Regions from separate parts of the Homo sapiens genome. Here region 2 is linked to region 1. Evidence: promoter capture Hi-C in 16 types of primary human blood cells and fetal thymus (Javierre and others, 2016). All regions are on one chromosome and are shown on one strand. The core of a region is centred on a gene start or on the middle of the fragment in contact, and the rest is flanking DNA. Distances in the headings are between cores, read along the strand shown.

The links. The method cuts DNA at HindIII sites, captures the fragments that hold promoters and counts their contacts. A CHiCAGO score of 5 or more calls a contact.
Region 2: a contact is called between a fragment that was not itself captured here and the fragment with the promoter of BOD1 in region 1, in 1 of 17 cell types (non-activated CD4 T cells). The highest score is 5.1, in non-activated CD4 T cells.

What each region holds. Positions count from the first base shown.
Region 1 is chr5:173,614,054-173,617,905 of GRCh38, reverse strand. BOD1 (biorientation of chromosomes in cell division 1) reads left to right here and starts at 1,256. Exons shown (of 4, transcript NM_138369.3): 1 at 1,256-1,706. The coding sequence starts at 1,470. RefSeq lists enhancers at 980-1,059, 1,080-1,339 and silencers at 1,320-1,389, 1,400-1,449. The HindIII fragment of the contact is 8,451 bases long and covers 1-3,852 here.
Region 2 is chr5:5,416,559-5,420,486 of GRCh38, reverse strand. The region is part of intron 2 of LOC101929200 (a long non-coding RNA gene); the gene reads left to right. Among named protein-coding and RNA genes, the nearest start is that of ICE1, 4.2 kb to the left of the region's middle. RefSeq lists an enhancer at 1,135-1,204. The HindIII fragment of the contact is 1,560 bases long and covers 1,535-3,094 here.

The DNA.
Region 1 (3,852 bases), core at 7-2,506:
TGCACCACTGCACTCCAGCCTGGGCGATAGAGTGAGACTCTGTCTCAAAAAAAAAAAAGAAAAAAAAATTAAACTGTCTTGAGTACTAAATATTGGTGTGGAGAACATCCTGGATCTTTGCCAATTCTGCATCTTCGCAGGAGCCAAGGATATTGCAGAATTTGCTATTTACATCCCCTCTGCTGCTTGTGTAAGATGAGGAAACAACAATAGCAGACATAATTGCTGAGGTTGGGAGGGGGAGCTGAGCTAACAATAGGCAAAAGATGAAGGGAAGAGAGGATAATGGTGGCAGCTATAGGATTCCAATGGTGAATTGTGGCTACTTAAAAAAATCAGGATATAAAGCCTTACCTATTGTGGGATACCAACTAGCTCTCAGGATACCTCAGGCTAAAATGCAAGATTTAGATCCTCAAAACCTGGGTTCAAATCCTACTTTTCTACCTCTAGGTATGTGATTAGGTTAACAAACTTTCTTCTGCCTCCATTTCTACGTCTGTAAATAGCAATAATAGTAGTATGTATCTGCTTTTTTAAATTATCGTGAAGAAGTGCGTGGAAAGTGCATAGCATCACGCCTGACACTTTTCAATTATTCAATATTGGCTTATGATTGACAATATTTAATATTTGGGAGGAAATCCACACACATATAAGACAGACTTAAGGAAAACTTTTATTTTCTTCTTCACACTTTTCCGTTATTTTCCAATTTTCTAAAATGAGTATGCATTGCTATTAAAACCAAAAGGAGGGAAACTCACAAATTTCTGAACAATAGAAGTTTGACTGTTCCACTGTTTCCGGAATTTCCCGGAACATGTTGTTCAAGAAGGACGTGGGAGTGCATGCTGAAGCACAGATTGCTAGGTCTCGACCCGTAAATACTGGATAAAAATCTTTAAGAAATAATTCTGGTAATCTATACTTTTAATCAGCTCCACAGATGACTGTTATAATCGGGCACTGCTGGGACGTGTTGATTGAATGGGAAGTGAGCAGAGAGTGGGCGGGGAAGGCCTGGCGGGGAAGGCCTGGCGGGTTGCAGCGATCACGAGGCCTGCGCCTACAGTTCCCATATTACCCCGCGAAATCGCGACGAGCAAGCACGAACCCTGCCGGGAGTTGTAGTTTCTCTCGGCTAGGCCGCTGCCTATAAAGAACGCCGGAGATGGCCACAGAAAACTTCCCGCCCCACAATGCAAAGGTCAACGTTGACGCCATCTGGGGTGCGCCTGGAATCGAGCAGGCCGTTTCTGCCGCGTCCACCACAACCTCTGCTGTATCAGAGGGGGCCTTCGCCGCCGCCGCCCCCACCACCGCCCCTGCCGCCATCGCCACCTCCGCCGCTGCCGCCTTGGGGCCCTCCTCCTTCACCGCCCCCTTCACCACCTCTACACGTTCTAGGCCTTCTGTCCTGGAGAAGAAGCTATAGTCGTTCTCCCTTGTGGGCCCGGGGCGCAGCCATGGCGGACGGCGGCGGCGGCGGGGGAACTGGCGCGGTGGGCGGCGGCGGAACTAGCCAGGCCTCTGCCGGGGCAGCGACTGGCGCTACTGGGGCCAGCGGGGGCGGTGGCCCCATCAACCCGGCCTCGCTGCCTCCCGGCGACCCGCAGCTCATCGCTCTCATCGTGGAGCAGCTCAAGAGCCGGGGCCTTTTTGACAGCTTCCGCCGGGACTGCCTGGCCGACGTGGACACCAAGGTAGCTGCGGCCGCCTGGGCGTTGGGGAGCGGGGCTGCACGTGAGGCCGCCGGGTGGCAGCTTTGATTTTCGAAAGCCGAGAGCAAAACAAAAGATAGCTTAGAAATCTCAGCGGTGAGGTCTTACACCGCTTGGGGCAGTACGGAGAGCTTTCTGAGCGATGCACACGTGGGTTCCTGCCTGATACATTTACTACTAGTTGTGATTTTACCCAGTCCCTTCTCCGAACTTGGGGTTTCAATGTGGGTTTTAGAGCCTAGACCGTATCATTCCCAAGATGGAACTCCTCTGAGGCCCTTAATAACAAACTTCGAAACCAAGTAGATAAGCAAGCGTGCTTTAGAATTTCCACCTGTTCCGTACTCACCACTGAGAAGCTGGCATTAAACACAATGATTTGAACACACAGTCATCACCATTTTATAGCTGTTTATTCCTTTTCTCTAGCTCATTGTTTTGCAGACTAGTACGGCGTTGAATTAAGATAAATTGTAGAAACAGCACCCTTATTTTGCACTTCATCATTGATAAAAGGAGATTTGGTGCCTAGTTGAGATCCTAATGCCATTGGTCAGTCCCACCAGTAAAACGCTATTTCACTTTACCTACTCGTCAGGGTGGTTTGGATTCAATGAAATAATGGGTGTTAAGTATCAGACATACAGTAGTTGCTGGAATGTTCATTTTCTTCCTTTTCAAAACTTGTCTAGCCACGACTGTGGTTGTAGGTTAGGAGACCCTGTCACTGGACTCCTGCAGGGTAGTGATTTCTCCTACCAGAGCCTGTCATGGAAACATTTTGCTTACCTCACAGCAAGATTGTGAGCTTAGAATTAGACCTTAAGATAGGGAAAAACGTAGTCTGTTTATTCGTTGAACGTTTATTGGCCTCTAGTTGCCAAGCTGTGCGATTACAGGAATAAGTCACTACCCCATCCTCAAAACTTATAGTCTAGGTTAGAAAACTGACATGTAAATAAACCAGGTGGTAAATACGGATGTAGAGAGAGAAAGTGGTATACACTGTTCCTTCTCCAAGATGAAAAGCCCAACTAGAAGTCTGTCCTTGAAACAAAGTAATTTAATACATATACATCCCAGATCTGTATTGACAGAGCTTTCACCTTTCCTAGGACAAGTTCTCCATTCATATTTCTTATATTCCGTTAGGTTTTGTGTGTGATTTTAAAACAAAAGCGACTACAGTAGCCCGCCCCATCCAAGGTTTTGCTTTCTGCGGTTTCATTTACCCAATTGTTGCGGTATGGAAGTACTTGTGTTCAGGTAACCCCTATTTTACTTCATAATGGCCCTCAAAGACATTCATGCGTAGTGTATATAGGGTTCAGTACTACCTGAGGTTTCAGGCACCCACTGGGGATCTTGGAACGTATCCCCTGAGGGGGGAGGGGACTACCCTCTTGAGCGGCTGGTGAGGGAGAGTGGTTGGAACCTTCCCATGTACAGCTCCTTAGCTGTTCCTTCTGAGAATTCCAGGTTGTTTTAGTTCTTGAAGATAGTGTTTTTTCAGGCATATCTTATCTGAGACCTTTGTTGCTTCAGCCCAGTGGTTCTCAAAGCGTGGTGCTTGGATTAACATCAGCATCACCTGAGAACTTGTTAGAAATGCACATTTTGGGCCCCACCCCAGACTGCTGAAGTATTTAGGGGAAATTGAACAGATGTCTGTAATTTACTTTGCACTGTAATTTACTTTGAACTGATAAGTGAACAGGTGGAGGGGTTGGTAGTACAGTAAAACGTTATGAGTGGGCTCATGAGTTCCTTTGACTTCTTGAACTGAGATGATTCTGTATCGCCTGGGTTTGTTACGTGTTTTGGTGGTGATGTTCACTGTCCTTTGTCCTTTTTCGGTAAACAGTTCGTATCATCTCAAACCAGGTGCGTTATTTTGAGTAGACGGTATGGCATCAGGATTTATGCTTACAAGGGACAAAAATAATCCTAACTGCTTTATGCAAAGGGGAGAATCTATTGTCTTACGGAATCCAGGGAAGGATTGAACGAACAAACTCTCCCAGAGGGTGGTAGGCGTGCGTTTGGAACCAGATATTCCCCATTCGTTCTGTCTTTCATCTCTGTTGATATCTGTTTTACTGTTGGTTCAGAGTGGAGTCATCCATTT
Region 2 (3,928 bases), core at 1,065-3,564, about 170 Mb after region 1:
GGTGTGATTATTGGTCATAATGAAAATGTAGTAGGCCACTAATTGAGGAATGGTCAGAATTACATTTTTTCTCTTTCCTGCATGATGGGCCACACCTGTTTTTTCATCACGATGGAAACAAACAAGCAAGTGTGTATACTGCAAGTGGTGAACTATGGCTTTGGAACCACACATCTGTCTTTAAATTCTTACGCAAATGACCTATTTGTGCTGGTGTTTCCTTACAGAGGACCAACGGTAATTTAAGTAAAAAGTGACAAGGATGGGACCCACTCTATAGGATTCACTAGACAAATAGTTATTAATAATTTATTGATGGTGGTATCCATTTTGGAAAGGAGATAAATATATCTTCAACTGACTCATAGGAAAAAGATGGTTTGCTTTTTCTTTAAAAGCATTTTTCCTGTCAAACTTCCAAGATAAACTTGTTGTTTTTCTGCCAGAGAAGCCCTAAGACCCGGAGGAATGTCTGCATTCCAGTCTCTGGTCTTGGGATTCCCTGTGCCTGTCGAATCCAGCCAGCTGTTCAGAGGATCCAACTCAAAAAGTCTCACTTCTCACCCCACACGCTCATTACCTCTCAGATACTTGGTGTCTGCTTAAAACGAAAGCTCTGGAATTAGCATCATTGAGAGGTAACTGTTGATTTAGTTTATTAACATATACTTCCACTGAAATGGCTAATAGATATGGTCTAGAAACCAAGGAGAACTCAAAATGGAAAGCTGTCTATTCTTTGGAAGTTCAAGGCTGTGCTTTTAATTGATGCATTTAACTGTAAGAAAAATGAACTATATGTTCATTTGTTTCTTTTAATTGGAGAGATGTTTGATGGAATTGTTTGTGACTAACAGTGTGTTATTCAATGATATGACCCCCTGATTATTAGGTATTAATTTCCAGACCTGTGATGTAATGCTACCATATGCCCACAAGATGTCTGTCTTTCCCTGTGTGTTTTCCACATAAATAGAATTTCCGACGGTATTAGGACTTAACCGAACCTTCTTGCTGAGGGGAAAGGCCATCCTCTGGGGCATCCTAGGGTGGAAGGCGTCTTGTGGGAACCACTTTGCTATCCGCCCACACACGTTCCACCAGGCTTAGTCCTAAGCTGTCTTTGCTCCAGTTTTTCTCAACACTCAGGGTTATAGTGGTGGGGTTTCGACTTGTCCTCAGACATCAGCAATTTGCTCACAGCCTCAGCTCTTACCCTCAAAGTGATTTGAAGCCAGAGAGTAAACATGTTGCTTCTTCCTGAAACACTGATGTTACTTAGAAACCGGACAAATAAAATTTAGTTTTGAAACAATTAGTTTGAAATAGAAAGCAAAACTGATATGATTATTAAGCAAAATTTTCTTCAACCTGAGAAAGCTGATTGAGAAAAGTAAAAAAAAAAAAAGCAACATTTGAAAGGACTTTCACAACTCTCACATTGCAGTCGCCCTCTGTAAAGGAGGACAAGCCCACTCTGCCTTGCGGGTTTGTGAACACCTGGCGGCTGTAAGAGTTGGTCACACGAGAAGCTTCTTGTAGCTTCCGGGATCGGAGGAAGAAGGCGGCAGGTGCTCAGAGGTGACAGGTGTTGAGGAGGGGATTCTCTGTAGAGCAGCTGGCAAGGGCATGTCCCACCTAACTCTGAGGAGGGATAGGAAAGGGAGGGACATGTTTCCCCTTCACCTGAGGCCAGTGGGGGGTCTCCTTGGTTTCTAGACCACATCTAGCAGCCATTTCAGTGGATGTATATGTTAATAAATTAAATCAACAGTTGCCTCTCGATGATGCTATATTCCAGAGCTTTGTTTTAATCAGTGCCCCCACGAAGTGAAGCACTCAGAGTCAGATGCTACATGCCCTAGAGTGGTTCCAAGGGAACCGTGGGACAGCTCCAGGAGATGGGTTGGAGGTGACTGAGCCGCATGCTCACCCGCACTGGGATGAGCAGGAGTTCTGCATACTGGATACGGTGGGCATTTCAGTGGGAGCTGCGAGGAAAGCGAGGCTGAGGCAAAGTGAGCAGCCAGAAATAAAACTTTGCTCTTCCATCCCCCATTCAAAGAACTGTAGCTGGATGTCCACAGCTGGAAAGTCCTCACTTTGAACTGTATCCACACAGCACCAGTGGCAGCCACTCACCAAAACTTGTTTCTATTCTGTCTAGTTATTCCCCAGCCTCCCTGCACCTGACATGTGATTAAGTTCTACCAGCCAAACATCAGCAAAAGGGGCCTGGCCCCTAGGGCCTTCCTGTGCTCTTTGTCACTTCCTGCTGACTGGAAGAGGGATGAATCCCAGGACCCTGAGCTGGTGGTTAAGTTACTGTCTCTCGGCCCCACACCTTCCCTTTTATACTCTGCCTTGTGACGTAGGGACTGGGGAGCCACGTGCCACCTCTCCTGCCAGAGTTCTGTTCAGCTGTGCCAACAGATATACACAAGGAAACCAGAAGATAAGAGGTAGGAGAGGGGCCTGTGCCTCCCATTCTGTCCTGTCCGACTCCTGGTCCTGCTAGCGTCTTGCTATCCTTGCTTTCGCACCTGGCAGTGGCAGTTCATGAACAGAGCGGCATACGAATTGGGTCTGCAGTTTCTCTGACACACGCAGAGCCAGCCTCATAGCATCCCCTCGGAGATACCAGCAAAGTTGGTTTCCCAGCTCCACAGAGCCCTGAGTCCAAGAGCAGAGGCCTCAGCACCAGCCCAGAAGGTCCCTTCTTCATATGTCTGAGTGTGATTTCTGGGTGGCAGCTCCTCCACATTTCTGAGTTTTGCTCACTCCTTCCTCCTTCTTTTATTCTCTCCAGCCCAAGGTGTCAGCTGCTTCTTGCGGTGGCTCCTCCTGTGATATTTTAGTGTTTTGCTTTTACCTTTTCTCTCTTAAAATAATCTGGGTGTAATGTGGGTCTCCTGGCTGAGCTCTGCCCCAGTCCTGTGCGGAAGATGCTCTTCCGTCCCAAGGAGCTCGCTGCAGGAGAGAAGCCCACCCCACCAGCCTGTTCTTTGTTCTTGGACTATGACTCAAGCACTTTGGGAAGCCAGGTTACAAAGACTGCATCTTTTTCTCCTGATCCCTTCTCCTACCCCAAGCTTGGAGGGGTCACAAACAAGCTGGTGAATAAGGAAAATGTTGGAACAGAGGAAAAGCCTGTCTTGCCCCATTCCCACCCACCCACACCCATCTTGCTAGCGTCTAAGAACGGCCACCAGCTCCATGGGTAAGAAGCTAAGTTGAAGACAGGAAATAAGTGACAGCACATCACACTGGACTGTGTTGTCTCCGAGTGACTGGAAAGGCTAGGGTGTGTGCCCAAGACTGCATCTGGGGTAAGAAGGAGCCCAGAGGACAAATCCCACAGACAGCAATGATTTAAAAACCAAGACATGGAGGAAGTGACTTTATGATCATCTTCTGCTCAGTACTGCCCTTGCTGAGGCATGTGCAGCCCCTTCTCCTCCTCCTCCTCCTCCCCCTCCTTCCCCCTCCCTCCCCGTCCTCCTTCCCCTCTCCCTCCTCCTCACCCTCCTCCTCCTCTTCCTCTTCATCCTCCTCCTCCTTCTGACTCACCTCCCAATGAATTCCTCAGTTGTTGTGTGTGCCCAGCTCTCATCCTTCACAGTGCACAGCTCCAATCAGCCCCTCTGCAATATTGGGCTTGGCGTGCAAGTGGCACCCCCTTCCATCCTAGGCAGTAAATCCAACCAGTTCTCTAAGGTCCATTCAAGTCCAGTTTCTATGGGAAATGTCCTTGATAGAGTTTTGAATATCAAACTTTTTTGGTTTTTTTTTTTGGTATCATTCTTGGTCCTTCCCTTTTTTTCCTTTGTCTCCTCGCCACATATAAGCAGCATGAGTTCTGTTGGTAAGATAGCTGTCTGCCTGTCCCACCACAGCCATCATGGTCGCTGCCATCCCTGGCAGCCGG